5 separate regions of the Homo sapiens genome follow, and all the other regions are linked to region 4. Evidence: promoter capture Hi-C in human tissues and cell types (Jung and others, 2019). All regions are on one chromosome and are shown on one strand. Each heading gives the region's core, a stretch centred on a gene start or on the middle of the fragment in contact. The rest is flanking DNA. Distances are from core to core; before and after follow the strand shown. Region 1 has its middle 5.5 kb from the start of MTFMT. Region 2 overlaps TRIP4 (thyroid hormone receptor interactor 4). Region 3 overlaps CSNK1G1 (casein kinase 1 gamma 1). Region 4 holds the start of OAZ2 (ornithine decarboxylase antizyme 2). Region 5 overlaps CSNK1G1 (casein kinase 1 gamma 1).

What was found. The method cuts DNA at HindIII sites, captures the fragments that hold promoters and counts their contacts. A contact is called where the count stands out against the background at its distance.
Region 1: a contact is called between a fragment that was not itself captured here and the fragment with the promoter of OAZ2 in region 4, in 1 of the 25 tissues and cell types used here (mesenchymal stem cells).
Region 2: a contact is called between a fragment that was not itself captured here and the fragment with the promoter of OAZ2 in region 4, in 3 of the 25 tissues and cell types used here (dorsolateral prefrontal cortex, mesenchymal stem cells and spleen).
Region 3: a fragment that was not itself captured here is called in contact with the fragment with the promoter of OAZ2 in region 4 in 1 of the 25 tissues and cell types used here (dorsolateral prefrontal cortex).
Region 5: a contact is called between a fragment that was not itself captured here and the fragment with the promoter of OAZ2 in region 4, in 1 of the 25 tissues and cell types used here (lymphoblastoid cells).

What each region holds. Positions count from the first base shown.
Region 1 is chr15:65,032,840-65,037,480 of GRCh38, reverse strand. No RefSeq gene overlaps it. Among named protein-coding and RNA genes, the nearest start is that of MTFMT, 5.5 kb to the right of the region's middle. RefSeq lists an enhancer at 4,076-4,155. The HindIII fragment of the contact is 4,917 bases long and covers 1-4,297 here.
Region 2 is chr15:64,430,288-64,435,287 of GRCh38, reverse strand. The region is part of intron 11 of TRIP4 (thyroid hormone receptor interactor 4); the gene reads right to left. Among named protein-coding and RNA genes, the nearest start is that of ZNF609, 28 kb to the left of the region's middle. RefSeq lists enhancers at 4,251-4,762, 4,763-5,000. The HindIII fragment of the contact is 3,066 bases long and covers 475-3,540 here.
Region 3 is chr15:64,252,001-64,256,570 of GRCh38, reverse strand. All of the region lies in intron 3 of CSNK1G1 (casein kinase 1 gamma 1), which reads left to right. Among named protein-coding and RNA genes, the nearest start is that of PPIB, 91 kb to the right of the region's middle. The HindIII fragment of the contact is 3,236 bases long and covers 499-3,734 here.
Region 4 is chr15:64,701,874-64,706,812 of GRCh38, reverse strand. It overlaps OAZ2 (ornithine decarboxylase antizyme 2), which reads left to right and starts at 3,532. Exons shown (of 5, transcript NM_002537.3): 1 at 3,532-3,784. The coding sequence starts at 3,765. It overlaps LOC124903507 (a long non-coding RNA gene), which reads right to left and starts at 2,270. Exons shown (of 3, transcript XR_007064679.1): 1 at 2,181-2,270. RefSeq lists silencers at 3,397-3,716, 3,727-3,946. The HindIII fragment of the contact is 8,869 bases long and covers 1-4,939 here.
Region 5 is chr15:64,209,168-64,213,688 of GRCh38, reverse strand. The region is part of intron 6 of CSNK1G1 (casein kinase 1 gamma 1); the gene reads left to right. Among named protein-coding and RNA genes, the nearest start is that of PPIB, 48 kb to the right of the region's middle. The HindIII fragment of the contact is 4,963 bases long and covers 737-4,521 here.

The DNA.
Region 1 (4,641 bases), core at 590-3,089, 330 kb before region 4:
ATAGGAGGTGCTTAAAGTTTAATCATTCTCAGACACAGCACTATGAACAGTTTCATTTTACAGACATATTGTTCAACAATGTGTTTGAGGAATGTCAAACAACTTGGTAAGTAAGAATTGTGTGTTAATTTGTCTCAGTTTTGTCCCTCCCATTCACAGGCAAGTAAGCACTCTTTTTTTTTTTTTTAATTTTTTTTTTAAGACAAGATCTGACTCTGTTGCCTAGGTTGGAGTGGCATGATCATGGCTCATGGCAGCCTCAATCTCCTGGGCTCAAGCGATTCTCCCACCTCAGCCTCCCGAGTAGCTAGGACCATAGGCGTGCACCACTACACTTGGCTAATTTTTAAAATTTTGTAGAGATAGGGTCTTGCCCAGGCTGCTGTCAAACTCCTGGCGTCCAGTTATCTTCTGTCTTGACCTCCCAAAGTGTTGGGATTATAGGTGTGAGCCACCATGCCTGGCTTGATTATTTGCAGGCATACTATAGTTATAATAAGAAAACAAAAATTTAAGGAAATTTTTGTTTTGCTAAGCATAACCCATTTTACAACAAATTGCACTTTTTGGAGGCATCATCCTTAAATTTACCTGTATATTAATTTATCCATTTGGATTAAATTTTCCATTTAAGGTTTTCTGGCCAGGTGCGGTGGCTTATGCCTATAATCCCAGCACTTTGAGAAGCCAAGGCAGGTGGATCACCTGAGGTCAGGAGTTTGAGACCAGCCTGGCCAACATGGAGAAACCCTGTCTCTACTAAAAATACAAAAATTAGCCGGGCATGGTGGTGGGTGCCTGTAATCCTAGCTACCCAGGAGGCTGAGGTGGGAGAATTGCTTGCTTGAACCCGGGAGGCGGAGGTTGCGGTGAGGCAAGATCGTGCCACTGCACTCCAGCCTGGACGACAGAGTTAAGACACTCCGTCTCAAAAAAAAAAAAAAAAAAAAAAAAAAAAAAAAAAAAAAAAAAAGATTTTCTACAGTCTTGACCTCCTAGACAGAACATTTAATACATCTTGGATTCTAAGGGGGTTTGGCAATGTGGGTAGGTATTCTGAGGCATTTAGTCTCTCATTTCTGAAAACTGGATGATCTAAAGTATACAATATTATTCATTTCATGAATTTTGAGGGGTCCTCTGAAATAATATAGCAACCAAGGTAAGACTCACAAAGCTAATAATCAGGGAGATTTAGGGTAGTTCCTTTAACTATGTGTGGTGAAAGTGCCTTTCAGTTTGAACATTTAAAGCCCGCTAAATTGAGAGTTAGAGATGGAACATAAAGGACTAAAGAGATGTTTTTCATATGCCTAGCAGAACATAGAACATAAAAAAAAATACCGACAACATTTCAAAACACAATCTGAGTTTCATCATTGGTTTCATTCAGTTCTACATAATGAATTCTCCATAGGTGGATCCTGGGTCAGCAGTCCACATTTGCAGAATTATCTGCTTCTAGACAAAGGCACCCCGGCAATCCTGAGATGTAAGCGCTCTGGTACAATGTGCCAGGTATCCATGTGCAGCGGCAAAATCAGTTCACACAAAGAGGCCTGAACTCCTGAGTTTACTCCCTGCAGTATCAGTAGTTATATGATGGTACACTGTCACTCACTGCTGGTGGGAATGTAAAACGGTGTAGCCACTTTGGAAAACAGCTTGTCACTTCTAAGAATTAAAACATAGAGGCCGGGCGCAGTGGTTCACGCCTGTAATCCCAGCACTTTGGGAGGCCAAGGCAGGCAGATCACGAGGTCAGGAGATCGAGACCATCCTAGCTAACATGGTGAAACCCCGTCTCTACTAAAAATAGAAAAAAATTAGCCGGGTGTGGTGGCGGGCACCTGTAGTCCCAGCTACTCGGGAGGCTGAGGCAGGAGAATGGCATGAACCCGGGAGGCGGAGCTTGCAGTGAGCCAAGATCGCGCCACTGCAGTCTGGCCTGGGTGACAGAGCAAGACTCAGTCTCAAAAAAATAAAAAATAAATAAATAAAAAATAAAACATAGAGTGGGACTCAGCAATTCTACTTTTAGGTATATACCCAAGAGAATTGGAAACATATTTCTTTTTTTTTTTTGAGACAGAGTCTTACTTGGTTGCCCAGGCTGAAGTGCAGTGGCTTGATCTTGGCTCACTGCAACCTCTGCCTCCCGGGTGCAAGCAATTCTCCTGCCTCGGCCTCCTGAGTAGCTGGTACTACAGGCATGCACCACCACTCCCGATTAATTTTTGTGTTTTTAGTAGAGATGGGGTTTCACCATGTAGGCCAGGCTGGTCTTGAACTCCTGACCTCAAGTGATCGCCCGCCTCGGCCTCCCAAAGTTTTGGGATTACAGGTGTGAGCCACCGTGCCCAGCGGGTGGAAACATATTTCCACACAAAAGCTTGCACATGAATGTTCACGGTAGCATTATTCATCATAGCCAACAAGTGGGAACAATTCAAATGTTCAACTTGAGGCAAGATAGGTAGTCAAGGAAGTGACCATGTCCTCGGGATGCGGCAACCGTGGTGACCGTACAGTCAACACAATAAGCCCCAGCATTCGCACTGTAGTTGAGCTCATTCAAGCAAAGCTATCTACAGTAGGGAATTTCCCCTGTAAAGAGGATGTGCATTTTGGCCGGGCGCAGTGGTGCAGCCTGTAATCCCAGCATTTTGGGAGGCCAAAGCAGGAGGATTGCTTGAGCCCAGGAGCTCGAGACCAGCCTCGGCAACATGGCAAAACCCTGTCTCTACAAAAAAAAATTAGCTGGGCATGGTGGCGCGTGCCTATAGTTGGAAGGCTGAGGCGGGCGGATCACCTGAGCCTGGGAGGTCGAGGCTGCAGTGAACCGAGATCACGTCCCGGCACTTTACCCTGGGTGACAGAGCAAGACTCTGTCTCAAAAAAAAAAAAAAAAAAAAAAAAAGTGCCTGGTACAGCCCCTTCAGCCCCTACCCCCAAGGCTGTAAATTTTATTTTGATATTTCTTCCAGAAGCCAAGATCTCTGACTTATATACAAGGGCCTTTAGGCCAAGTGTGAGGAGCAAGCAGAAAGCACCTGTTAATGATAAGACTGGGTAGCTCTGGTTTAATTTATTACAGAGTCAGCTACATCAGATTGGAGGCAAGTAGGATTCCCACAGGAGAGCAGGATATAAGCAAATGAGCCTTTCTATAACTGTTACATAAGGACTGAGATGATCATTATCCCCCACAGAGGGATGTATTATAGACCTGAAGGTTTTGGCAAATCTCCAGAGAATGATAATCTATATTGTAAAATGTAAAGAGGATACCACAAGCATCTCCAACCAACCAAATTATTACACTTCTAGGAAAAATTTTCTTAGAAGTGTATTTATTGATAGCCCTTACATACAAACAGAAATATGCTACCACCCCACACAGGATACATGATATATATTCACAATAACAATCTATACAAAACTTCCTTGGGGTAGCTTCAGCCTCTCTTTCCCATATTCTGAACCTGGTAAATAAAGGAAGCATGCTAGTGAGCAGCTGATTAGAAACTATGGAGCTAATCAATTGCATGCAATCGCTCTTCTTTGAGTCCCACGTGAGGGTAAAGGGTGAGGAAGCAAGGCTGTGGTGCTATCTAGTGGCTGTCTAGGAAGTAGCAAAGGCGGTTTTGTTTAAAAAAGGATTTCTGTTTTATCACTCCATATGTGGAGCCTGATTTCAGAGAACAGCATCAAAAAGTGTTTTCCGATATAAACATAGGTGTCCAAGAACAAGAACTGGCCACAGCTGTAGCTATTTTACTAACTAGTCTTTCCTCCTGTTAACAACATACAGCTTTGTTAACACTGTCTAGCATTTTTGCTGGGGGTAAAGGGCTGGGAACTAAAGTTTTTAATATTTGATCTCTTTAAGTGTACTTTGAAATATTCTCTTGGTTTTCTAGGATGCCCCTCAGCAGCAATGAGGAAACGTCCATATTGTTAGGCTGCTTCTCCTACCTGTGGTATATCTGGCTTCGCTTCCTGGGGTTCCTGATACCCCTTAGATGTCCCTTAACCTCTCCAGTCTCTCTCCTTATCAAGGAGAGTCCTGTGGACCCACACTGCTGTGTGTGGCCTTTCATCCCCGGCCCTGATTTACAGAGAGGCTGGACAGGTTAGGGAGTGACATCTACTGGACCACACAGGGCAGTAACAACACAGAGGGCAGATTCTGTCAGAGGTACTGGAGCAAACGGACTATCCGTCACGCTCAGTGACGGGACAGGCTGGTGGGCAGCACCTCCTTGCGGGCATCTGATACAACCACAGGCAGGCGATGGCAGTACATGGAGTGGCTCGCTAGGAACTGCATCTCAAAAGGCTTCACTGGACTGTGCCCCTGAGGTCAGTTCCTGCCCCTGGCACTGGGCTGACACCTATGTGTGGCAGTCCTTCCCCTGGTCAAATGTGGCATTGCCTCCTAGGCCACAAGCAGGGGTTCTTGTGGACTTAGGCGTTGGCCACCTTACTAACTGGAGTTCTGTTCTGTGGTAGTTATCCTCACCCTGCAGAAATACCCATATAGTCATGGAGTGGGGTGAGATGACGGGAACAGGAAGTGGAAATGCTTGTTGCCTCTTCCCATTCCCAGATCAGCTCTCCCAGCCCCTAGTCATGGAG
Region 2 (5,000 bases), core at 758-3,257, 270 kb after region 4:
GGCCTCCCAAAGTGCTGGGATTACAGGCGTGAGCCACTGCACCCGGCATCTTTTTTTTTTTTTTTTTTTTTTTTGAGATGGGGTCTCACTCTGTCACTCAGGCTGGAGTGCACTGATGCAATCTGCTCACTGCAACCCTTGCCTCCCCGGCTCAAGGGATCCTCCCACCTCGGCCTCCTTAGTAGTTGGGTTTACAGGTGCATGCCACCATGCCCAGCTAATTTTTGTATTTTTTGTAGAGACGGGGTTTCACCAGGTTGCCCAGGCTCATCTCGAACTCCTGGGCTCAAGTGACCTGCCCACCTGAGCCACCCAAAGTGCTGGGATTACAGGCGTGAGCCACCATGCCTGGCCAATAATATCTTAAATTAGAAGATAAGTTGCCACTTGGTTTACATGGTAGACTAGATGACAAACCAAGGAGTCCTGAACAGATTCCAAGTAGATAGCGACACTACAGCATATTCTTTCTAGATCAAATAGACCACTTTCTCTAAGCCTTGGTTTACTTAAAGGTAAAATGAAGGCATCATATCCAGTAATTGATTCTACCTACATAAAGCCCCTTGCATCATTGTTCCTGTCTTGCCTCATTTCATTGGCATTATCCTAGAACATATTTTTCAAACATCTCTATCCTGGACTACAACTGTCTTCTCACTGGTCTTCCCATCTTCAGAATATCTCCACTCCATCTTCCACATTTCTGCCAAATTAGTTTTCCCTCAAGCAAGCCTCAGATCATGTTAATGCCTCAAAAAAACTTCAAAACACTCTTTCCCATCCCACAACTGATATGTCTATCATTTGATAGATTTGAATGCCTATCATTCAAAACTATCTATCATCTGAACAAACCTACCTTTTCATTTTTTTTTTTTTTTTCTTGAGACGGAGTTTCACTCTTGTTGCCCAGGCTGGAGTGCAATGGCACAATCTCGACTCACTGCAGCCTCTGCCTCCTGGGTTGAAGTGATTCTCCTGCCTCAGCCTCCTGAGTAGCTGGGATTACAGGCATGCGCCACCACGCCCAGCTAATTTTATATTTCTAGTAGAGACGGGGTTTTTCCATGTTGGTCTGGCTGGTCTCGAACTCCTAACCTCAGGTGATCCACCTGCCTCGGCCTTCCAAAGTGCTGGGATTACAGGTGTGAGCCACTGTGCCCAGCCCTTTTTAATTTTTTTTTAATTGGGCAGTCCCAGAAGCAGATTAGTTTCAGAGAGACTCCCCATTTCATTTTTTGTTTGCTGCTTATTCCTCTATACCAGGGGTATTCAATCTTTTGGCTTCTCTGGGCCACGCTGGAAGAATTGTCCTGGGCCACACATAAAATACACTAACGATAACTGATGAGCTTTAAAAAAAAAAATCACACACAAAAAATCTCATGTTTTAAGAAAGTTTACAAATTTGTGTTTGGTCTCATTCAAAGCCGTCCTGGACCACATGCATCCCACGGGCCACAGCTTGGACAAGCTTGCTCTATACTCACACTCTTCTTTCAATGAACTGGTTTGCCATTATTCTCCATAGAGGCCGATAACTTCACCTCTGTGCCTTTGCTCCCATTACTCCTCATCCTTGTAATATGCTTTTCTACCATCTCAGTAGAAACACTTGAACAGCAAAATCATAACTCTACCATTAACTGACATTACATAAGTTATTTTTTATTTATTTTTTGAGATGGAGTCTCGCACTGTTGCCTGGGCTGGAGTGCAATGGTGCGATCTCAGCTGACTGCAGCCTCTGCCTCCTGGGTTCATGTGATTCTCCTGCCTCAGCCTCCCAAGTGGCTGGGATTACAGGTGCACATCACCACGCCTGGCTAATTTTTTTTGTATTTTTAGTAGAGATGAGGTTTCATTATGTTGACCAGGCTGGTCTCGAACTCCTCACCCTGGACATTACACAAGTTATTTGAACTCTCTTGACACTTTAGGGATGATATTTCATCCCTAAAGGAGGGGAAATGACACCCTGCTTGGAATTATTATAAGGATTAGAAAATAGCATGATGAATGTGGCACATAATAACTGATCAAAAAGTGATAGATTTCATTACTATCCTTCAAAGCTAATTCAAAACCATCTTTTTAAATAAAGTCTTTTGGGATCCTTCCCAGCTAGAAGCAAGCTTTCCCTCCTTTATTTTTCTCAGAGACAGTCTTTACTTCTTTTAAGACAGTTAGGTTCACTTTTTATTTTATATTTGGTTTATATACATATCTACCTAGAAGTCTTTCAAACATCTGAGGACAGAATCTACAGTTGATTCATCCTTTTGTTTCTCTTAGTGTTTAGAACAGTGCCTGATTTATAATAGGCTCTCAAGTGTTTATTTATTTATTTATTTATTTATTTTTATTTATTTTTGAGATGGAGTCTTGCTCTGTTGCCCAGGCTGGAGTACAGTGGCGCAATCTTGGCTCACTACAACCTCCACCTCCCGGGTTCAAGAGATTCTCCTGCCTCAGCCTCCCGAGTAGCTGGGATTACAGGCGCATGCCACGACGCCCAGCTAATTTTTTGTATTTTTAGTAGAGAAGGGGTTTCACCATGTTAGCCAGGATAGTCTTGATCTCCTGACCTTGTGATCCGCCCATCTTGGCCTCCCAAGCTGCTGGGATTAAAGGTGTGAGTCACCACGCCCGGCTGTATTTATTTATTTATTTTTCAGACAGAGTCTTGCTCTGTCACCCAGGCTGGAGTGCAGTGGCGCAATCTCGGCTCACCGTAACCTCTGCCTCCCAGGATCAAGTGATTCTCCTGCCTCAGTGACCCAAGTAGCTGGGATTACAGGGGTGCGCCACCATGCCCAGCTAATTTTTGTATTTTTAGTAGAGATGGTCACCAAGCTGGTCAAGCTGGTCTCAAGAGCCTGACCTTGAGTGATCCGCCTGCATCGGTCTCCCAAAGCGGTGGGATTACAGGCGTAAACCACTGCGCCTGGCTCAAGTATTTATTAATGAATAAATATATATGAAAATCTTAAGAATTTCATGTTTATTTTCAGATGAAAACCAAAACACTAAATACATGGAAAAGTGGTAATATTTCCCATCTCTCTTCAGGATAAGTACAACAGAAAACATAATGCTCAGCCAGGCATGGTGGCTCATGCCTGTAATCCCAGCACTTTGGGAGGCCGAGGCAGGCGGATCACGAGGTCAAGAGTTCAAGACTAGCCTGGCCAACATGGTGAAACCCTGTCTCTACTAAAAATACAAAAATTAGCCGGGCGTGGTGGTGCGTACCTGCAATCCCAGCTACTCAGGAGGCTGAGGCAGGAGAATTGCTCGAACCTAGGAGGCAGAGGTTGCAGTGAGCCAAGATCACTCCACTGCACTCCACCACCCTGGACGACAGAGTACGACTCCGTCTCAAAAAAAAAAAAAAAAAAAAAAAAGAAAACACAATGCTCTTTGGATAAAAAAAATATATATATATATATAATATAAATGGTTTCTGAAACCATTTAAGTGGGTACTTAATACCCAGACTGCAAATAACCCTAAAGACAGTCTGTTTTGATCTAGAAACTCTAGTCAATGTTCCAGTTTTGTTTTTTTTTTTAATTTGAGATGGAGTCTCACGCTGTTGCCCAGGCTGGAGTGCAGTGGTGCAATCTCTGCTCACTGCAACCTCTGCCTCCCGGGTTCAAGTGATTCTCCTGCCTCAGCCTCCCAAGTAGCTGGGATTACGGGCACCCACTACCACACCCAGCTAATTTTTTTTTGTATTTTTAGTAGAGACAGGGTTTCACCATGTTGGCCAGGCTGGTCTTGAACTCCTGACCTCATGATCCACCAGCCTCCGCCTCCCAAAGTGCTGGGATTACAGGCGTGAGCCACCGTGCCCAGCCTGTCAATGTTCCAGTCTTCAAGAGAATTCCAAAACTACATTCCCTATATCTCACTCAAGTGAGCTGTGATTTTAATGAATTGTCCAGGGTTAAGCTAGTTGTTAGTAACATAACAATTTTTCTTCTTGTTGAGTCTCAGATAACAGCCCTCATCGTGAGGGCTGTTATCGGAATATTTTGAGGTCTATATATTGGCAGATTTTCTCAGTACAACAGACAGGACATTTTCACATATTTTAAAAGAGAATTTGTGGACTGCATTTTGAATTCCAGTGCCTGGTTTGAATACTGACTATTAAATCCTTCATTTTCTAATTTCTCATCTCTCAGACTCACAGACAATTCATTGGTGATAGAAGCTGATGATTTCCACAAACGAAGTGATACTTGGAATCTTCCTGAAGATCTATGTTGCTTGGATACTCTTTTTTTTTTAAAGTTTTAAAAATTGCTTACTTTTCTTCCAGCAAATTCTCCTAGATCCTGAAGATACTTTTCTAGAAAAAGGAAGAAGTAATATTCTCTTCCCTATTGGAAGACTACAAGTCTACTGCCGTCAATTATTGGAAACAGGCACCCAGCAGTATAACTGCTTCAGCATAATTCCTTGAAGATAGGGTCTTGGCTATTGTAAAAGCTGTAAGATCAAATAGACTAAAGGGTCAGTAAGCTGGCAGGAAAGGAATGGATTCAGTTCAGAAGAAATAGAATAATCAATGACCTTGGAGATTTCAGACAAATCAGATTTTCTATTGAAGGCAGGGATATAAATAGCACAAACACAACACAGACACGTAGAAACAAAAGCCACCAACTCAACTTTTTGTTTGAAAACTTGTTAGGTCTAGAGAACTGTTCAAACCACAGCTGCTAATGGTTATGGATTTGGCAATCAAAATGTCTTTGTTAAAAAAAAAAAGTTTTAACTGCCTTACTATTGAGGTTACAAACCACAGCCTTGATGCATTGTTGCAGTCAACATCCTCCCTGCTGTTTTTGAGAGCTTACATCTGCTGCTGGCAGATAAAATGCTGGCAAACAGCATGGGCTCCTTCCAGGGGAATCACAGGAGAAGCTTTAACGAGATGGCTCTCATCTACCTTTTTACCCTGAGTTGAACCCATAGCCTTTTCT
Region 3 (4,570 bases), core at 867-3,366, 450 kb after region 4:
GCAATGCCTTCTACTTATAGTGCTTCCAGAAAAGCACCTTGAAGCCCAATTGGCTGAGCAGGCTATGGCCATGTGCTAAGGAGTTGGCTGAAGTGTGTAATTCTCTCAGTCTTCATAATAAGACCCTCATGTCTGAATATATGTGATGTGTATGCCTTTCAACCCTTGAACTCTATGGAGTTTTGCATTTTTAATTTACTAGCTTGGCTACCCAACGTCAGATTGAATATTTTCTATTATGCTTTCCAGCATGAAGATTGAGAGTATAATATTTGAGGAAGGATGTGTGGTTTTTAAAATTCATTGCCTCTGTGGTTTGTCAGAATCCAAAAGCGATTTCTCTGGAAAGAATAGTCCCTTTTCTAGTGTTTTGATCGACTTCTAGTTCCATGTTGATTTGTCATCACTGTTTCTGTTTGGTTCCTTGTGAATTCTTAGTTATTTTGCTAATGGAAAAATTCTATACCTGGCTGCTTTGATAGTGATTCAGTGGAATATCTGCAACCAGATGGAGACATAAGAGTGATATGATACCTCTCTATCTGAAGAGATAAATAAGAAAGGGACTCTACAGTATAATTAGTCTTATGTACTTTTCTTTTTACTGAAAGTCTTGAGACACTTGAAGTCCAACTCTAATGATTGCTGATTTTATACTCAAACAAGGGTATGAGTTCTTTCTTCATAGCGCTTCCTACAGATACAAACATTCCAGTCTGGCCTGAATTGATTTAGAGAAAATCTTCCTAGAAGCAGAGGGATAGACTAGACAACTTCGGAGAAACTTCTGAATTCTTTGATTAATGGATTCTATATCTTAAGAAAAATGCAGAAAACTTCAAGTGGATTCAGGAAAGAGCCTTCAAAGATGATCAAAGAATTAAAAACTAGGACCAATGAGGAAAGGTGAAAGGAATTTGAAATTACTTTGCCTAAGAAAAGAAAGTCTAGGAAAGCCTGAGAAAAGTAAGTTTTGTTATTTGAAGAGAGCTACTTAATAGTATTCGTGGTTATTGAGGAGCTTTTTTATTTTTTTGCTGAGGACTTAAGAAAAATAGGCTTAAGTTTCAGTAGTGAGATTTGAGTATAATATAAAAGTGTTCCAAACCATGAAACTTGTTCAACATCAGCATGAATTGTCGAGGGAAGTTATGGAATCTCCTTCCTTGGAGTCTGTCTTAAACATAAGACAAATAGGCGGGGTGTGGTGGCTCATGCCTGTAATCTCAGGACTTTGGGAGGCTGAGGTGGGTGGATTACGAGGTCAGGAGTTTGCGACCAGCCTGGCCAATATGGTAAAACCTCGTCTCTACTAAAAATACAAAAATTAGCCGAGTGTGGTGGTGTGCATCTGTAGTCTCAGCTACTTGGGAGGCTGAGGCAGAAGAATTGCTTGAACCCGGGAGGTGGAGGTTGCAGTGAGCTGAGATTGTGCCATTGCACTCCAGCCTGGGTGACAGAGTAAGATTCCATCTCAAAAGAAAAAAGAAAAAAAGGACAAATAACTACTCATTGGGGGAAAGGACAGTCTTTTCAACAAATGATGCCAGAAAAACTGGATACCCACATAACAGTGAAGTTGGATTCTTACTTTACATTGTATTCAACAATTAATTCAGAGTGGATCAAAGACCTAAATGTAAGATTGAAACTATAATATTTTACTAGAATACACATGGGAAAAGCTTCATGACATTGGATTTGGCAGTGATTTCTTGGATATGACACCAAAATCACAGACAACAAAAGAAAAAAACTAGCTAAGTTGGACTTCAGCAAAATTTAAAACTTTTGCACACTGTCAACAGAATTCTAAAAAGGGCAACCCATGGAAAGGAATAGGAGAAAATAATATTATCTAATAAGAGATGATATCCAGAATTTACCATTATAACAGTTTTTTAAAGTGCAGTGGCATTGGCCAGGTGCAGTGGCTCACACCTGTAATCCCAGCACTTTGGGAGGCCAAGGCAGGCGGATCACCTGAGGTCAGGGGTTTGGTACCAGCCTGACCAACATGCAGAAACCCCATCTCTACTAAAAATACAAAAATTAGCCAGGTGTGGTGGTGCATACCTGTAATCCCAGCTACTTGGGAGGCTGAGGCAGGAAAATCGCTGAACCAGGAGGCAGAGGTCGTGGTGAGCCAATATCATGCCATTGCACTCCAGCCTGGGCAACAAGAGTGAAACTCCGTCTCAAAAAAAAAAAAAAAAAGTTCAATGGCATTAAGTACATTTACATTGGTGTACAACCATCACCACCATCCATCTCCAGAACTTTTTCATCTTCCCTAACTGAAATTTTGTATCTGTTAAACACTAACTCCTCATTCTCCCCTCCCCCCAACCCCTTGGCAACCACCATTCTGTCTGTCTCTATGAATTTGACTACACTAGATACTTAATTTTTTTTATTGTTTGTTTTTTTGGAGACGGAGTCTTGCTCTGTCGCCCAGGCTGGAGTGCAGTGGTGCGATCTAGGCTTGCTGCAGTATCCACCTGCCGGGTTCAAGCAATTCTCCTGCCTCAGCCTCCTGAGTAGCTGGGACTACAGGCGCACGCTGACACTCCTGGCTCATTTTTTGTATTTTAGTAGAGACGGGGTTTCACCGTGTTGTCCAGGCTGGTCTCGAACTCCTGAGCTCAGGCAATCCACCCGCCTCAGCCTCCCAAAGTGCTAGGATTACAGGCGTGAGCCACCGCGCCTGGCTACTGGGTACTTAATATTAAGTAGACTCATTCAATATTTGTCCGTTGTAACTGGCTTATTTCACTGAGCATGATGTCCTCAAGGTTTGCCCGTGTTGTAGCATGTGTCAGAATTTCCTTTTTAAGGTTGAATAATACTTCACCCTATGTATATACCCAATTTTGTTTATCCATTCATCCAATTATGCACACTTAGGTCGCTTCCACCTTTTAGTTATTGTGCATAATAATGCTATAAACATGGATGTACAAATAAATCTGAGTTCCTGCTTTCACTTCTTTGGAGCATCTATCCAGAAATAGAATTGTAAATCATAATGATTCTGTCTTTAATTTTTTGAAAAATTGCCATGCCATTTTCCAGAGCGGTCGCACCATTTTGCATTCCCATCAGCAGTGCACAAGGGTTCCAGTTTCTCCACATCCTCATCAACACTTGTTATTTTTCTGTTTTTGATAATAGCCATCCTAATGGGTGTGCAGATGTTGAGCTTTATTTTATTTATTGATTGATTGAGACAAGGTCTCACTCTGTCGCCCAGGCTGGAGTACAGTGGCACAATCACAGCTCCCTGCAGTCTTGATCTCTGGGACTCAAGCAATCCTCCCACCTCATCCTCCTGAGTAGCTGGGACTACAGGAGCGTGCCTCCCTGCCAGGCTAATTTTTTAATTTTTGGTAGAGACAAGGTCTCCCTATGTTGCCCAGGCTGGTCTCGAACCCCTGGGCTCAAACAGTTCTGCCGTCTCAGCCTCCCAAAGTGCTGGGATTACAGGCATGAGCCACCATGCCCGTCCTATTTTATTTATTTATTTGTAAAGATGAGGTTTTGCTGTGTTGCCCAGGCTGGTCTTAAACTCCTGGTCTCCAGTGATCCTCCTGCCTCAGCCTCTGAAAGTGCTGGGTTGGCAGACATGAGCCACCATGTCAGCTACTGTTGAGGTTTTAAAGAGAGATTATAATGTGTTTAGGGTAATGTTTGGTTTTCTTGTTAGCCAGTTGCCCAGTACACTGTCAGTTTAGAATAATCAGCCAGCCAGTTGCTCAATTGGTATAGAGCAAAGTATGGTTGTTTGGCTGCTTTATCTCTGAGGTTTTTAGAAAACTCCATTTTTGGAAACTTGAACACCACATTGATTGAAGTTACATATTTTAATTGCATTTACAATCTTTAATTCTCAATAGTTTAAAAAGAAATATACATAAGGATGTTCCTAAAAGCATTGTTCATAATATTGGAAAATGAAAACAGTTCACGTGTCCAAAAATTATGGGGAGGGTGTGTATACATACATACATAAATACATATCCACATACAGGGCAATACTCAAACCATTAAAATAATATAAGCCAGGTGCAGTGGCTTATGCCTATAATCCCACAGCACTTTGGGTGGCTGAAGTGGGAGGATTGCTTGAGCCCAGGAATTTGGGACCAGCCTAGGCAGCATAGTAAGATCCTATCTCTACAAAAAATTAAAAATTAGCTGTGAGTGGTGGCACACACTTGTGGTCCCAGCCACTCGGGAGGCTAAGATAGGAGGATGACTTGAGCCTGGGAGGTTTTGACTGCAGTGTGCAAGACCCTGTCTTAAAAAAAAAAAGAAATTATACACGTTTATTTACCGCCATGGGAATATGTTATTACATTGTTGAATTCAATAGCACATTAATGAACAGCAAATATATTATAATCTCATTTATATAAAATTAAGTTCATTAGTCTATATTATATATATTAATACATATATAGATAAATAAATACTTTGAAAGACATTCACTAAAATGTTAATAGTGCCTCTCTTTAAAGTGACAGGATCACAGATGATTTTTACTTTCTTCCTAATTTTTGTATATTTG
Region 4 (4,939 bases), core at 2,283-4,782:
ATTAGTGAGGTCAAGCGTTAAGCTCCTGATACAGGTCAAAGACTTGTTGAAAGGTTTAATTAAGGCAAAGGTTATGGTTGGAGAGTCAATATTTTGGACGTGAAATGATTTTTGGTGAAAACAAAGTTGAGGGTGTGTTAGCAGCTACAGTGGAGTGCTGAAAATCTTACCGGAGATGAGAAAGTCGAGGAAGTGAGAGGAGCGTGGCTGAGAGGCCATCATGTGGACCTTGAGCTCACCAAATATGACAAAATTTGGGGCGGAGAGGCAGCAAGCCATGAGCCAAATAAGGGGCATCAACCAGGAGGCTGGCTAATGACATTAACCAAGATAGTATATCTAGAGGGTGAAGCCCCAATGGAACAGGGATTTTGTGGGAGGGAGGGGAAGATAAACACTGGTCTAGAAATGGCATTGGGATGGAGAGGAATACACTTACCCACTTCTGACACTGAGGCACGTGAGAATGAGAAACAGAATTCACCTAATAGAGCTGCTGGAGAAGCAGCGGTTAGTGGATAGCCAAGTTTCAGATAAAGCAAGGATGCTGAGAAAAGGCTGAGGATGTGGAAGAGTTTGCTGATCACACGTTGCAGAAGGCACAGTGGGAGGGTATGGTTAGGAGCAGGAAGCAGAGTCTGATAGATTGCCAGTGTGAGGGCAATGGATGAGAAGGGACTTGAACCTGTGGTGGTGACTGGGGTAGACAGGGATAGAGGGGTGATGGGATATAGTGCTGTTGTAGAAGTTTCTGTGATGATAGACATGTTCCATATGTATACTGTGTAATACTGTGGCTGCTAGCCACATATGGCTATTAAGCATATGAAATGTGGCTAGTGGGCCGGGCGCGGTGGCTCATGCCTGTAATTCCCAGCACTTTGGGAGGCCGAGGCAGGTGGATCACTTGAGGTCAGGAGTTCGAGACTGGCCTGGCCAACATGGTGAAACCCCGTCTCTACTTAAACTATAAAAATTAGCCGGGTGTGGTGGTGGGCGCCTGTAATCCCAGCTACTCGGGAGGCTGAGACAGAAGAATTGCTTGAACCTGGGAGGCAGAGGTTGCAGTGAGCTGAGATCATCCCACTGCACTCCAGCTTAGGTGACAGAATGAGACTCGGTTTCAAACAAAAGAAAAAGAAATGTGGCTAGTGGGACTGAGGAATTGAACTTTTAACTTTATTTCATGTTAATTAATTTAGATTTGAAGACCTCAGTTTTTGTGAATTTTTCACTTGCTGACCAGGTGGCTATCAGGGTGGCCACTCCTTTAAACAGAAAGCTGTCCAGAGAGCTTCTGACTCTTCCACCATGCAGATCCAGAGAAAGCACAGGATCAGGCAACTTGGGATCCAAATTCTAACTATACCACTTAATCGCTTTGAATTAAAGCTAGCATGTTAACATGTCTGGTATAGACAGACCCTCAATAAATATTGGATGACAGAATAAATCTCTCTGAGGTTTAATTCTCTTCATCCTTAAAACGAGGGTGGAGAGCTGTTCTAAAATTTAGTACTTTACCCATGATGCTCAATAAATGGTCGCTATTATTGACATAGTGAGTTCTCAATATTTGTTGATTCATGGGTCAAAAACTGTCCTTCAGGTTAAAGGGTTACTTGGCCAGGAATGGGCTGGCAGAAGTGAGACATTCCAGCTCCCTCTGAGGGTCCAGGAGGATTGCCCAGGTCTCTGGGACTATGCGATGGGGTAGATCAGGGCTGGGTTTAAATGTCCAATTTTGCTAAGTACTAATGTAAGAACATACCTGACTTGAACCTGGAGGAGTAGGTAGGGATAGCTGAGGGACAAAGTGGAGGATCTTAAAGTGAACCAGAGTATGAGACCAGCCTTGCCTGAATATCTAGTGATAATCCGGGCAGTTTCGGTATCATTTACCACTTTAATTTGTGTTGAAAAAGCCTTAGCTTGGTAGCTCCAGCCTTCCTTCTGTGCCTCCATCCCCATCATCCAAAACCCAAAAGCATGCTGTTTGTGAAGGAGAGTAACCATATCCTGAGATGACTCCAATGTGAGATGTTTGTGAACTGAAAGTCATAGTGACCGCCGATCTGGAGTGTCACCCTTTCTCTGAGTTATCACTCTTTCTGCAAAGCTGTCCCTAATTCCCTAAATTACTTTCTCTGTGGCATTCCTCAGATTGAGCACTTACTTACCTGGTATTGTGATGACCTGTGTCTCTCCCCTTGACCGGATTGTGACATCCAAGGCAGGAACCTTGCCTGGTTGATTATGGCGTATTCTTGGACTCTAGCACATGCCTGGAGCATACAGTAAGTAGCTATTCAATAATTATTTGTTGGCCGGGTGCGGTGGCTCATGCCTGTAATCCCAGTACTTTTGGAGGCCGAGGCAGGTGGATCACCTGAAGTCAGGAGTTCAAGACCAGCTTGGGCAACATGGTGAAACCTCGTCTCTACTAAAAATACAAAAATTAGCCGGGCATGGTGGTACATGTCTGTAATCCCAGCTACTCAGGAGGCTGAGGCAGGAGAATCGCTTGAACCCGGGAGGTGGAGGTTGCAGTGAGCTGAGATTGTGCCACTGCACTCCAGCCTGGGCCACAGAGAGAGACTCCATCTCAAAAATAAGTAAATAAATAAAATAATTATTTGTTGAATAACTGAATGGATGTAATCTGAGGTGACAGAGTGACCCACTGTGATCTGAGATAATGTGACCTCTCTTGATTGCAATCTGGGTTGACTGTGAACAGAGTCGGGGCTTTTGATGATTGTGTTGAAGTGTCTGTGATTGTAACCTACAAGGACTGTGATCTGAGGGGTCTGCGCACCGGTGACTGTGGCCTTCAGGCACTAATCTGTCATAAGGACCAGTAGGGATAATGAATGGAGGTGACTGAACTAGTAACCTTGCATGATCGATTGAAGTAACTTGCACTGATTGTGATCTGAAGTGACCGTGAACAAGTTAGTGACGACGCTTTCCACGACTGTCTTGTTGTGACTGTGCTCATGATCTACAGAGTTCTGGCTTCAGATGACCTAAGCCAGTGCTTGGAGCAGCCTTGACGATTGACATGAGATGTGTGCGAGATGCTGAGATTGTTGATCTACCCTGACAGCTGAGGTTATTGATCTGCATTATGAGCTGAGATAACAGATCTGTGGGCCTGGACTCAGACTAGGAATGGTGCTAATATGTGTGTAGTTCTCTTAAGATTTCTGATTTTGTTTTAATATCCTCCCAAATGGCACAGCCCTGTTCGGCCCCACGCCAACAAGGAATAGGGATGAGGACCAGGTTGAGTCAATCCTCACAGAAAACTACCGGAAACACAACGCATCTTCTGGGCCGCGCTGCCGCAGCTGCGGGCAGACCCACCGCCTTGGTCATGGCCTCCTGCACAGCCTGCCCTTCGTTCGGACCCCCTAGCCCTACCCCCACGATCGGTCCGTGGTGCGCCTGCGCGGAGGCGGGGCGGTGCTTTGCCCTTTGTTGTGGGCCCCAGTTTCCCAGGACACCGCGCGGCGCTGGGGTGGGGCTATGCAGATGAGGCACTCGGGGGCGGGGCGGCGGCGGCGGCGGCGGCGGTGGCGGCCGGGGAGGGTCAGTTGGAGGCAGGCGCTCGCTGAGGCAAAAGGAGGCGCTCGGCCCGCGGCCTGACAGGGACTTAGCCCGCAGAGATCGACCCCGCGCGCGTGACCCCACACCCACCCACTCATCCATCTATCCACTCCCTGCGCCGCCTCCTCCCACCCTGAGCAGAGCCGCCGAGGATGATAAACACCCAGGACAGGTAACGGCCCGGCCCAGGCTCCCCGCCCCCATCCTCCCTCATCTGCTCCAGAGGGCCTCTCACGTACCCCTAGCCGGCCCCCGCCCCCCGCAGCGGGGCCATCCGCCCCCAGCCAGGTCCGTTCACCACTTCAGCCACCCTAGTCCGGTCCTCAGCCCTGCAACTGGGCCTTCTTCTGTCCTTTAGCCCCCTCTTCAGCCGGGCCCATCCCCCTCATCCGGGCCTTCTCCTCCCCTAAAGCCCCCAAAAGCCGGAACCCAACCTTCCAAGCAAGTCCCCTTTTTTCTTTCAGCCCCACCGAATTGTGCCCCATTCCCCAAACTGGGCTTTCCCCGGCATCCAGATTCCCCAAATTGTTTCCTGTCTTCCTCAAATCTTTCTTACTCCCCTTATAAGTCACTTCACCCTTCCCTTTGAATTCCCTCCCTGATGAAAACTGCACCCCCCACCCAGACTCTTCTCATATCACTGCCCCCCGCAAAGTCAACCTCCATCCTTCAGTTCTCAGTTTACCCCCACTCATCACCCTCCCCCCATTCTCTTCAGGCCTAGCAGTCCTTACACAGATGTCCAGCCTCTTCCTCCTGGTCCCATACTTCAGCTTCATCTTTCCCCCACCTTCCCCTCTCCACACCCCTCTCCCAGTTAGGCCCCATTTTCCCAGTCTCCCAGCGCCATTCCTTTTATTTATCAAACACCAGGTTTGATTCTTGTGCTCCATCCTGTTGCCCCAATGGTATACCCCCAACACTCTTGGAAACATTCTTACCCTCTAAACATCTTTTCTCAGCTGGAACTCATCCTTCTCCTTCCCCTCTTAACTGAATCCCGTCTTTGGATCATTAGATCACAGGACCCAGCCATCTCGCTTCCAGTGAACCTTCCCCCTGTACCTCCAGTGCCTTCAAACCAAGCTCTATATTCTGGACACTAGATCTTTGCAATTTCCTCCCTCAAAACCCGACCCTAGTCTTCCCCCATTAATTAGAGAAAGGCTGCACATCTTTCTCAGACCGAGCACCCTGGTTTTCCAAACTTGCATGGTATATCCTTCCCCCTGCAGATAGTTCCTCAATTTTCCTTTCTCTACATGCCTCTCTTTCTCCAAGACAACCCTTCTCACCTATCTCTCCCTCAAATTTTAATATATCCCAT
Region 5 (4,521 bases), core at 1,969-4,468, 490 kb after region 4:
TTACACTGTTTCCAAATGTTTAGTTTCTGAGCAGTGTGAGTACTTGAATTATTGTAAAAAGAGGATAGCATTTTAATGAGTTTAGTAATGAATTTGGTATTTACTTATGTATGACCCTATATATGATAGTCCTGAAGAGGACATCAGGCTGGGTCAGCGGTGGGGAAGAGTGCCTCACTAAAAATGGAGTAGACTTCTGTTCACTGCACATAGTTCTGCACAGAAGTCTTCAAGGAAGAGCTTCTGTCTTATTCAGTGAAAATATACTTGGTTTACCATTAGTCTTGCAATTTACTCAGGATAAACAACCTGCACAAATATTGTTAAATGCTCTAATCAAGGCAGAAGACCTTACCTGTGAGGAACTAGCCCAAGGGGGAGAGTATTTGTCAGAGAAGCCTAAGGAACAGTGGGGAGACCAAGCAGGCAGAGCCCTAGGCTTATCCACTTCAAAAAAGCCTCCCTTTTTTATGTTTCATATATTGGGCTTCCATGGAAGATTCTATTTGAAGAAAAGACTCCTAGGTGATTGAAAAAAACATGTTTGAAAATCAACATTCTAGAGAGTAGACAAGCAGAATATTCTCAGATTCCATACTCCTAGGCAGAAATAATTATAAAATATTCTTAAATATTAGTGAACTATTGCACACTAAGATGTATTTTATTTTATTTATTTTTTTGAGATGTAGTCTCGCTCTATCACCCAGGCTGGAGTGCAGTGGCACGATTTCGGCTCACTGCAACCTCTGCCTCGCGGGTTCAAGCAATTCTCCTGCCTCAGCCTCCCGAGTAGCTGGGATTACAGGCATGCATCACCACACCTGGCTAATTTTTGTCCTTTTAATAGAGACGGGATTTCACCATGTTGGCCAGGCTGGTCTTGAACTCCTGGCCTTAAGTGATCTGCCTGCCTCGGCCTCCCAAAGTGCTGGGATTACAGGTGTGAGCCACCGTGCCCAGCATATTTATTTTATTTTTAGAGACAGAATCTCACTCTCACTCAGGCTGGAGTGCAGCAGTGTGATCATAGCTCACTATAACCTCAGTCACCTGAGCTGGAGAGATCTTTCTCAGCCTCAGTAGCTAGGGTTACAGGCGCATGCCATCATGCCCAGCTAACTTCTAAATTTTTTTATAGAGATAGAGTCTCACTGTGTTCCCCAGGCGGGTCTCAAACTCCTGGTTTCAAGAGATCCTGTTGCCTCAGCCTCCCAACACACTGGGATTATAGATGTGAGCCACCATGCCTGGCCTGCACATTAATAAGTATTTTAAAGACTAATGTAATATCTACTAAGTTCCCTCATTGAGTAAACTACACAGGTTATTCACCTGAGGAATTCAAGTGATAGTGAAGAGTAAAAAATGGCATTACAAAGTAGTATGATACAATTCGATTTGAAATTATGATGTTATCAAGATTTTTTCAGTAACCACATGGAAATCCTCACTTAAGTAAATGTAATACTTTAAAATTAGACTAGAGGTCCTCTGGTACTTACTATCAGCGTTACTTTGGACAAGTTACTTAATCTCACTGAAACTCCTCTGTAAAATGAGGGTAATGCTTCACAGGGATATTTTGAGGGTTGAATGGATAATATATGTGAAAGCACCATGTCTGACATAGGTCTCTTGCATAGTGCTCAGCATCCCCTTCTTCCTTCACAATGACAAGTAATTTTCCATTTTACAAGGAAACAAAAACTGTATCTTAAATAATAAACTTAAGATTATGTGGTTTAACTGACAAACTCTAGAAGTTGTTTTAATGCCCACTTCCTGGGCTCAGCCATTTGTGTACTAATTTTATTGTTCTTAAGAGGAAAGACAAGAACAGACAAGGGATGGGTGTTCATGTTATGTTTGTATAAGATACAGAGTAGTGGTTAAGAAAAAGGATGCAAATCCTGGCGCTCTTTCTTAATAGCTATGTAATTTTGATCCAATAACCTTCTTCCCTCAGCCTCGGTTATCTCATGTATAAAATGGGTATGATAATTATGCCTGTAATATATGGTTCTATGAGATAATGTATGTAAAATGTTTAGCATAATGCCTGATAATAGTAATATCAGTCCATATTGTAATTATCCCGATTATTATTTATTCAACAAAATCTGTTTTAAGCATCTACTGTGCATCAGTCTGTTTCATCTCTTGGTGTACTGCCATTCCTGCCGGGACTTTTGAGTTTACCCCCAGACTTGGCTTACTGAGTACCAGAGTTTTTCAGGTCAAATCTAACCTGTCATCATATTTTGTGCTCTCTGCATTACAGAGAATACATAAAGAAAGTTGTCACTGCTTTTTAAACTCTTTCCCATGCCTCAAACGATAGAAGTTTTTGTAGGAACTCTAATGCTATTGGTTTTTAAATGTGTTGCATTTTTTTGTGTTGCAAAGAAGAAATGACTGAGATGTGTATTTTCAAATGGCTTTGAGAAAATCACTTCTTAATTTTACAGAGGAGGAGGACAAGAGAAGAAGCCTCCTAAACCTTGCATTAGTTGCCACATCAGAGTAGCCACACTTACTTAGTCCATTTTGTGTTGCTATAAAGGAATACCTGAGGCTGGGTCATTTTATAAAGAAAAGACCTTTAAATTTGGCTCAGGGTTCTGCAGGCTGTACAAGAAGCATGGCACTGGCATCTGCATCTGGTGAGGGCCTCAGGGGCCTCATGCTGCTTCCACTCATGGTGTAAGGGGAAGGGGAGCAGCCAGCATGTGCAGATCACATGGGAAGGGGGGTGCTAGGCTCTTCTCACCAACCTGCTTTCTTGGGAACTCATCCCTAAGGGAGGTCGTTAATCAGTTAATGAGGGATATACCCCCATGACCCAAACACCTTCCATTTGGCCCAGCTTCGAACATTGGGATCAAATTTCAACGTGAGGTTTGTGTGTGTTGGGGGGTCCGGGGGAAGGACAGAAATCCAGACCATAGTAGCCACCTTCCCACTGATTAAGCTTTTACTGAGAAGCCCAATTTATATTATTTAATGGTTGAAATTAGGGTGAGAACACTGGGTTACCTTGCTCCCTGCCTTCAACAAATATATTTAACCTAAAATCAGGGATGTTATGCATGTAAACCAAGCACATCTTTCTGATTGGATGAAAGCACACCTTTCAACCAATCAGAAGAATTGAAGAATTTTGTGTCCTGCTGGTCTCACTGGTATTGGAAACCTTTCTTCTTTGAAAATGAAAATATGCTGCATGAAAAAATGAGGGCATGTAGAAATAATGAATTGGACAAGTGTGGAGTGTTCAAAGTCGTATGAAAATAAAGCATGCTCTGGTTTTCACTCTTATTTTTTTCCTGAAAGGCCCTAAAGGCTTAAGTTATCAGATTATTTTAGAATTTTAGAGCTGGAAAATGACTTTTCAAATTCTCCCCAGATTGAACACTTTATTTTCAGATGAGGAAACTGAGACCCAAAGTAGGTGACTTGACCATGCTTAATTTCACTGGATTAAATTAGTGGAAAGGATAAACCAAGATCTAGATACCTAAATCGTTGAGCTGATTTAGGTACCCTTATTTTGGGTACCTTATTTAGGTACCCTTCCTGATTTAGGAACCCTTATTTTTCCTATTGTCCCATATTCTATAGTTCTTTTTCATAGTTCTCAGGATTTGAAAAGTTACTTTATTACTTATTCCAGTGAGTTTTAAAAATATATTAATCTCATAATTTATTTTGCTGTGAAATCTTTTTTCTGTAGGCCTGATCAATATTGAAAATGTGGAGAGTTTTCGCCCTCTAGTGCTCAACTGTTTAAAATTCAAACATTTGTCCAGTGAATTTTTAATAACCAAGGGGCTTCTTGTTACAGGAAGTGGATATAAAAATGGAGAGGCAATGAGTAGGTGTGATACAGTATGAGAAACTGCAGAGTCGTTTCTCTATCTGCCCTGCTTTGTGGGAGGCCTCCACTCAACTCTCCTTGTTCTTTTCTCTTTTTCATTTGTGCATCCTTAGGTTGTGTCAACAAACTGTTTTTGTATAACTGCTTTTTTTTTCAATTATGAATATTTTATTGCAAACTTCAGACAAGCCATGTAGACAAAGGATTCTGATGGTCATGCTGTTTTCATTCTTTTTAAGATTGTTTCAATTGTTGTATACCAACTCAGTTTTATGTTATTTATCTCTGTCAGGGTACCTCTCCTTCCCATTAGTAACCATCTTTTTACAACCTCCATCAAATCATTATTTAAAAAGTTGCCTTTTCTTTCTTCATCTACCCTGTAGACTACTATTCTTTTTCATGCAAATTCCCTATAATTTAAGGCAATAGTTAAACATGTTGCACTTCTGTATTTTGAGTTAGCTGAGTGGCTTTCTCTGGCTCTCTTGGGTTTTACTTTCTGTACAAAGAAAGCACAATCAAGTTGAAGGTAGCCTCTTAGTCTTGCTTCTGTAGTTTATTCAGATAAAGCCCTAAACTTGATTCTGAAAAATAAACACATAAAATGTCTGAGATGGGCCAGGTGTGGTGGCTCACAC